2 separate regions of the Homo sapiens genome follow, and region 1 is linked to region 2. The links are contacts of gene promoters, found by promoter capture Hi-C in blood cells and fetal thymus (Javierre and others, 2016). All regions are on one chromosome and are shown on one strand. Each heading gives the region's core, a stretch centred on a gene start or on the middle of the fragment in contact. The rest is flanking DNA. Distances are from core to core; before and after follow the strand shown. Region 1 holds the start of UFC1 (ubiquitin-fold modifier conjugating enzyme 1). Region 2 overlaps SDHC (succinate dehydrogenase complex subunit C).

Region 1 (3,378 bases), core at 324-2,823, 210 kb before region 2:
GCACCCGGCCAAACAAGATATTTAAATCTATAATTAACGTTTTTAGGTTTTATTTATTTTTTGAGACGGAATCTTGTTCTTGTTGCCCAGGCTGGAGTGCAATGGCAGGATCTCGGCTCATTGTAACCTCCGCCTCCCGGGTTCAAGCGATTCTCCCGCCTCAGCCTCCAAGTAGCCGGGACTACAAGCGTGCGCCACCATGCCTAGCTAATTTTGTATTGTTAGTAGAGACGGGTTTCACCAGTCAGGCTGGTCTGGAGCTCCTGACCTCAAGTGATCCACCTGCCTTGGCCTCCCAAGTTGCTGGGATTACAGGCTTGAGCCACCACGCCAGCCAAACAGGATATTTAAATTAAAGCCAAAATGGCCGGCGCGGTGGCTCACGCCTGTAATCCCAGCACCTTGGGAGGCTGAGGCAGGTGGATCACCTGAGGTCAGGAGTTCAAGACCAACCTGGCCAACATGGCGAAACCCGGTCTCTACTAAAAATACAAAATCAGCCGGGCGTGGTAGCACATGCCTGTAATCCCAGCTACTCAGGACGCTGAGGCAGGAGAATCAATTGAACCCGGGAGGCGGAGGTTGCGGTGAGCCGAGATCATGCCATTGCACTCCAGCCTGGGCAACAAGAGTGAAACTCGGTCTCCAAAAAAAAAAAAAAAAAAAGCAAAAATTAATGTGTTTAGATTTTAAGTCCAACTGGAGTTTGTTTATTGTTTCCCCACAAGTAATCCCAGCACTTTGGGGAGGCTGGGGCAGGAGGATCGCTTGAGCCCGGGAGATGGAAGATGCAGTAAGCTATGATCGTACCACTGTACTCCAGCCTGGGCAACAGATTGAGACACTGTCTAAAAAAAAAAAAGTCTAGGACTCAGTGAATGGCTAGACTAAGGCAGAAATCTTGCAGGGATTTGTCTTTTGATTCTGCATGGTTTCTAATCTTTATCAGGAGTTAAACATCCTTCTACAGGATAACTGCATCTAGAGGCAGGACTATATATAAGCAAAGGAAAAGTTCTTCGAAGAGGAAACACGAATCGCTCGTTTTAGGAAGTCAGTGCCTTGAAAAGCGCCTTGGGGTTGGGGGCTCGGGGCTGGGGGAGGGATAGCATTAGGAGAAATACCTAATGTAAATGACGAGTTGATGGGTGCAGCAAACCAACATGGCACAAGTATACCTATGTATCAAACTTGCACGTTGTGCACATGTACTCTAGAACTTAAGGTATAATAAAAATAAATAAATAAGTAAAAATGCCTTCAGCAGCCTGAAGTTCTAAGAGCTTTCCAAGTTTGGGAAGGTGTCCGGGTTTTCTGCGATTACTTCTCTGAGCATGAACGGAAGTCACCCTTTGTGCCTTATGCGGTGATTTTAATGATAGGTGTCATATATAGGACGGAGTAATCTGTTTACATTCTGTTCTTCTCGATGCACTCACAAGCGGGTAACTAGGTGACAAGAAAACAAAGATCTTATTCAAAAGAGGTCTTACAGCAACCCAACGTCTCATCTTCCCATAGTAAAGATGACGGCGCCTTGAGGTAAGCTACAGGCAACACCACTTCCGCGTTTCTCTTGCGCCCTGGTCCAAGATGGCGGATGAAGCCACGCGACGTGTTGTGTCTGAGATCCCGGTGCTGAAGACTAACGCCGGACCCCGAGATCGTGAGTTGTGGGTGCAGCGACTGAAGGAGGAATATCAGTCCCTTATCCGGGTTAGTTGTGTTTCTACAGTCTAACGCGTAGCATAAGGGTTGGGAGAAATCAGGTGTCCTCAATAATAGGCTCCGTGTGGAAGCCGCTTCCGGTTTTTAAGTTTAACGCCCAAATTCATAGAAATGGGACTATTGTGGGGCTCGGGGACTAAGGAGGGATGGTGGGGAGAGGGCAAAAAAGACTCGGGTGAGGTGCACAGTGGGGCCAGACCTTGCGGCTAAAAGCAGCAGTTATTTTAGGGATACGCTTCCCCAGAAGGTGACGTGTCTCCCTGGCTACAGGTGTTTGTTCACCTGGATGTGAACAAAAATCCTCAGGGCGCCAACTCCCAGTCCGCATCTCTCTGCCCCCTTCTTCACTCTTCACTGTTTTGTTTGTTTGTTTGACGGAGTCTCGCTCTGTTGCTAGGCTGGAGTGCAGTGGCGCGATCTCGGCTCACTGCAACCTCCGACTCCCGGGTTCAAGCGAGTCTCCTGCCTCAGCCTCCTGAGTAGCTGGGACTACAGGCGCGCGCCACCACACCCAGCTAATTTTTGTATTTTCAGTAGAGACGGGGTTTCACCGTGTTGGCCAGGATGGTCTCGATCCCCTGACCTCGTGATCCTGATCCACCCGCCTCGGCCTCCCAAAGTGCTGAGATTACAGGCGTGAGCCACCGCGCCTGGCCTCACTCTTCACTCTTTCAAGCCACATTAGGGCTGAAAATTCAAGTAGGTGTTAACTACAGAGAGTTGGGGAGTTTAGCTCATAGTTAGAAACGGGCTGTCTTCTCAGTTATCTCTACTGTGGAAGGTGAGAAAAGTTTGTCTTCCTTGTAGTTTCTGCCTGCTTCAAAGACCAGCAGTTCTAGTTCTCCTACCTCATGTATTCATTCACTAAAAAAAAAAAATTACTGTGCATATAGAACCTAGGGAGGAGATACCAAGCCGAATAAGGAGGAACTTACTGAGGTAGACAAAACCAGATCATTATAATACAGTGTTTAAGTGGAGAGAGACTGAGACAGATATGGACAGATATAAAGCGAGAAATGGCTAGGATGTTTTGAGAGCATAAGAGGAGACATCCAGTTTGCATTCGGTCACGGAAGGTTTCCTGGAAGAGGTAATGCTTGAGCTGAAACTTAAAGAGTAAACATAAGCTAGCCTGATAAAACATAAGAGTAGAAGGACATTCAAGCCAAAAGGGACAGCATGAGCAAAGGCATAGAATCTAGAAACGGCACAGGCACCAGCATGATGTGTTTGAAGAAACAAAGTAGCTCAGAGTTGTTAGAGCATCAAATGTGAGGCAGGGAATGGTAGACAAAGCTAGGAGACATATTTGAGCACTTGAATTTTCTCTTGGAGGCTTTGGGATACCGTTAAAAGTTATTAAGCTGAGGAATTACATGGCCGATTTGGGTTTAGATCAGTCACATTGGCAATAAGGGGAAAATACAATTGACAGGGACAAGACTGAAGGTAAGAGACAAGTTAGGCTGTCATTAATCTCAGCGAAACAAAAGGCAATCTAAACTAGGCAGTTGTGAGGATAGAGAGGAGAGGTAGATTTGTAGAATATTCAGAAGGTAAAATTAGCATAACATGGATTAGTGTAGTAAGGGATAGGGAGGGTCAAAGATGATTCCCAGGTTTTTGCCTTGGGTGAATGCTCATACT
Region 2 (3,625 bases), core at 485-2,984:
TGGGAGGCTGACGTTGCTGTGAGCCAAGATGGCGCCACTGGAGTGGCTGGGTGCAGAAGTTCACGCCCGTAATGCCAGCTTTTAGGGAAGCAGAGGCAGGAGGATAGCTTGAGTCCAGGAGTTCAAGACCTGCCTGAACAATATAATGAGACCCCGTTCTCCACAAAAAGGAGAAAATATATGTTTTTTAATGAAGTTTATTTATATATAAAATATATAAATATATACTTGTATATATATGGCACCACTTAGTAATGGTAAATATTGTTTTATCAACTTTTGCTATATTATATATACATATCTATTGGGTTCCAGTTTTAAAGGTATTTCTTAGTGGAGTCACAGTCAAAACAAAATTGAGAAATAGTGTTCTAGATCTCAGAGTATCCTTTAGAATACTAGTCCTCTGATAAATAGAGTTTCCCTCTATAAAAAGATTCTGAGATTGACTGTATCTAGGAAATCAGGCATATTATATCTCTCTTTTGGAGATTCACAGTGTGCATTAGTAAACTGTAAGAGGCTGGGCGCAGTGGCTCACGCCTGTAATCCCAGCATTCTGGGAGGACAAGGCGGGCAGATCACGAGATCAGGAGATCAAGACCATCCTGGCTAACTCGATGAAACCCCATCTCTACTAAAAATACAAAAACAAAATTAGCCAGGCGTGGTGGCGTGTGCCTCTAGTCCCAGCTACTTGGGAGGCTGAGGCAAGAGAATGGCATGAACCTGGGAGGTGGAGCTTGCAGTGAGCTGAGATCATGCCACTGCACTCCAGCCTGGGCGACAGAGTGAGAGTCCGTCTCAAAAAAAAAAAAAAAAAAAAAACTGTTTAGAAAGTCTTGCAGTTAAATGTTTATGAACTTTGTATGACCACAGAACTTTTTTTTTTTTGGCCCATACAATGGCTTTCAACATTCTGAGAGCAAGTGTTTGGAAGAATACACCTTGAGAAACATTAATCTAGATGTGTGGTCCTGAGGAAAAGTTGTATCTATTCATTCTGGAAGCTTTTGTATACCGTATGGGGCCTGTGGCATTCTAGAGAACATTCCTCCTACCATCACCACACAATAGAACCTGATTTTCTGTCATTGGAATAAGTGGATAATAGGTTCCATACTGTGGGTTTTGAGAAGGGTAAAGGTGGGGCATAAGGGTAGAAGCGCTTTTCTCTAGAATCATGCTGAGAGGAGATATCTATTCCTTTAGGTAGAATTACTTTCTGAGACAGGAACTGTTAATGTCCTATTTACTGAAATTCCTTTTTTTTTTTTTTGCTTTGTCCACAGATGTGGGACCTAGGAAAAGGCCTGAAGATTCCCCAGCTATACCAGTCTGGAGTGGTTGTCCTGGTTCTTACTGTGTTGTCCTCTATGGGGCTGGCAGCCATGTGAAGAAAGGAGGCTCCCAGCATCATCTTCCTACACATTATTACATTCACCCATCTTTCTGTTTGTCATTCTTATCTCCAGCCTGGGAAAAGTTCTCCTTATTTGTTTAGATCCTTTTGTATTTTCAGATCTCCTTGGAGCAGTAGAGTACCTGGTAGACCATAATAGTGGAAAAGGGTCTAGTTTTCCCCTTGTTTCTAAAGATGAGGTGGCTGCAAAAACTCCCCTTTTTTGCCCACAGCTTGCCTACTCTCGGCCTAGAAGCAGTTATTCTCTCTCCATATTGGGCTTTGATTTGTGCTGAGGGTCAGCTTTTGGCTCCTTCTTCCTGAGACAGTGGAAACAATGCCAGCTCTGTGGCTTCTGCCCTGGGGATGGGCCGGGTTGGGGGGTGGGTTGGTGAGGCTTTGGGTGCCACTGCCTGTGGGTTGCTGGCTTAAAGGACAATTCTCTTCATTGGTGAGAGCCCAGGCCATTAACACCTACACAGTGTTATTGAAAGAAGAGAGGTGGGGGTGGAGGGGAATTAGTCTGTCCCAGCTAGAGGGAGATAAAGAGGGCTAGTTAGTTCTTGGAGCAGCTGCTTTTGAGGAGAAAATATATAGCTTTGGACACGAGGAAGATCTAGAAAATTATCATTGAACATATTAATGGTTATTTCTTTTTCTTGGATTTCCAGAAAAGCCTCTTAATTTTATGCTTTCTCATCGAAGTAATGTACCCTTTTTTTCTGAAACTGAATTAAATACTCATTTTATCTTTGACTCTCCTTGAAATCTAGAGAAACCAAGAAAATGGCTGTTGGGAAGGAACCAATTTCCTCCTCTTCCCTCGGGTCTCAGGCATTTACATCCTCCCTCTCCCCGCAATCTGACCTTTACCAGGAGGGAAACAGTTCTCCTACATCTCATCATTGGAAAAGTTTTCAGGGAATCAGATAGAACTTAGCCAGAGATTTAAATATCACAGAAAAGCCTCAGAGAAGGAAGGAGAAAAAGAAAAGAAGTGACGCATGTAGAGTGCTTTTGGGTTATAGGCACCAAAATCCCATTAAGGACTGATTATAAGCTTCATGGTACAGTTCAGCAAATTATGATTCATTGAGGGGCACAGAGGACCAGTGTTGGTGACAGCTAGGGGATGATGACCTGAGGTTATAGGCTTGGGGTGAATGAAGCATAGAGTTTTTTTTTAAAAAAGAAGGGATTGTTGAAAACCTGGCAAAAATGTATAATTTAATGAGAAAACTTGCTGCTTTTAAAATCCATATAGGCCAGGCTTTAGCAGGCATGCTGTTTTGATAGTTTTTGGGAACTCTGGAATAAGAGACTTATCTCATCTGTCACTTCGAGTTGTTGGCCAGCCAGTTAAAGCTGTGGGTCGAAGAGGGGAAATGTTAACTGGCTGGTGTCAATTGGATAGGAAGACCTTAGTTAAGGTGGGGACCCGCTGTTTTAACAGTCTTCATTCAGGGTCCCAAATAGTATTTGGCTTTAAGTAATGATTGGTTTTCCCTTTTTACTAGAGGGGCCCTGGGAAGTCCTTGTACCTTTCCTCCATTTTAAACCAGCTGTTCTCTACTTTGTCCTTGGAATGAGGGACAAGTGATCATGACAGAACACTTTGTCATTGGGACTGGGAAAGGTTTGGCAAGGGCATTAAATTTAACAGCCAGTGCCAGGAAAATATAAAATGGGGTCAATGATAAACAGCTGTTAGAGGCTGGAAAATGGGTAGGGCAGTTGAATTTTTTGGTGGTTTCGTACCATTTGGGTGATTGAAGCATGGTAGTGGGTGGGTGGGGGGTGTGACAGAGCATCATGTTTGTTATTCTGCCTTAAATTTCTACTTACTGTCTTTTTCTTCTCTGTCTTCCAATCACTTTAATATCTTCAATTTTCAAACTATATTTGTACTTGGGCTTAGATAGAAAGTCTTACACAAGCATAGTATCTTCTACTTTGGTTTTCCCTACCTTTTCTTCCCCACCTTCTCCAAACACACATATACATACTCTACTCAATTCTATTTCTGATTTTGTAGTTGTTAGTTGTCCATGCTCAGGATAAAAAATGAGTGGGTAGGGTTGAGGGACTGGTTCTTTGAGGTTCTGCCCTTTTTCCATGATTCAGACCAACTTTCTCTTGGTCATTTCTGGAGTATAACTGACTCAATTCTTGTAAAAATGTGTTCCACCCAAACCACTGTATGTTCTTTTCCCTACTTTATTT

Evidence for each region. Contacts are between HindIII fragments. The CHiCAGO score rates a contact against its expected background, and 5 or more counts as called.
Region 1: the fragment with the promoter of UFC1 here is called in contact with a fragment that was not itself captured in region 2 in 2 of 17 cell types (M0 macrophages and M2 macrophages); the score reaches 5.9 in M0 macrophages.

The regions. Positions count from the first base shown.
Region 1 is chr1:161,152,405-161,155,782 of GRCh38, forward strand. UFC1 (ubiquitin-fold modifier conjugating enzyme 1) reads left to right here and starts at 1,574. Exons shown (of 6, transcript NM_016406.4): 1 at 1,574-1,716. The coding sequence starts at 1,594. RefSeq lists enhancers at 1,156-1,936, 1,174-2,373, 1,262-1,311, 1,402-1,451, 1,492-1,881. The HindIII fragment of the contact is 16,464 bases long and covers 1-3,378 here.
Region 2 is chr1:161,361,037-161,364,661 of GRCh38, forward strand. SDHC (succinate dehydrogenase complex subunit C) reads left to right here. Exons shown (of 6, transcript NM_003001.5): 6 at 1,293-2,170. The coding sequence ends at 1,397. Among named protein-coding and RNA genes, the nearest start is that of CFAP126, 5.0 kb to the right of the region's middle. The HindIII fragment of the contact is 1,452 bases long and covers 1,009-2,460 here.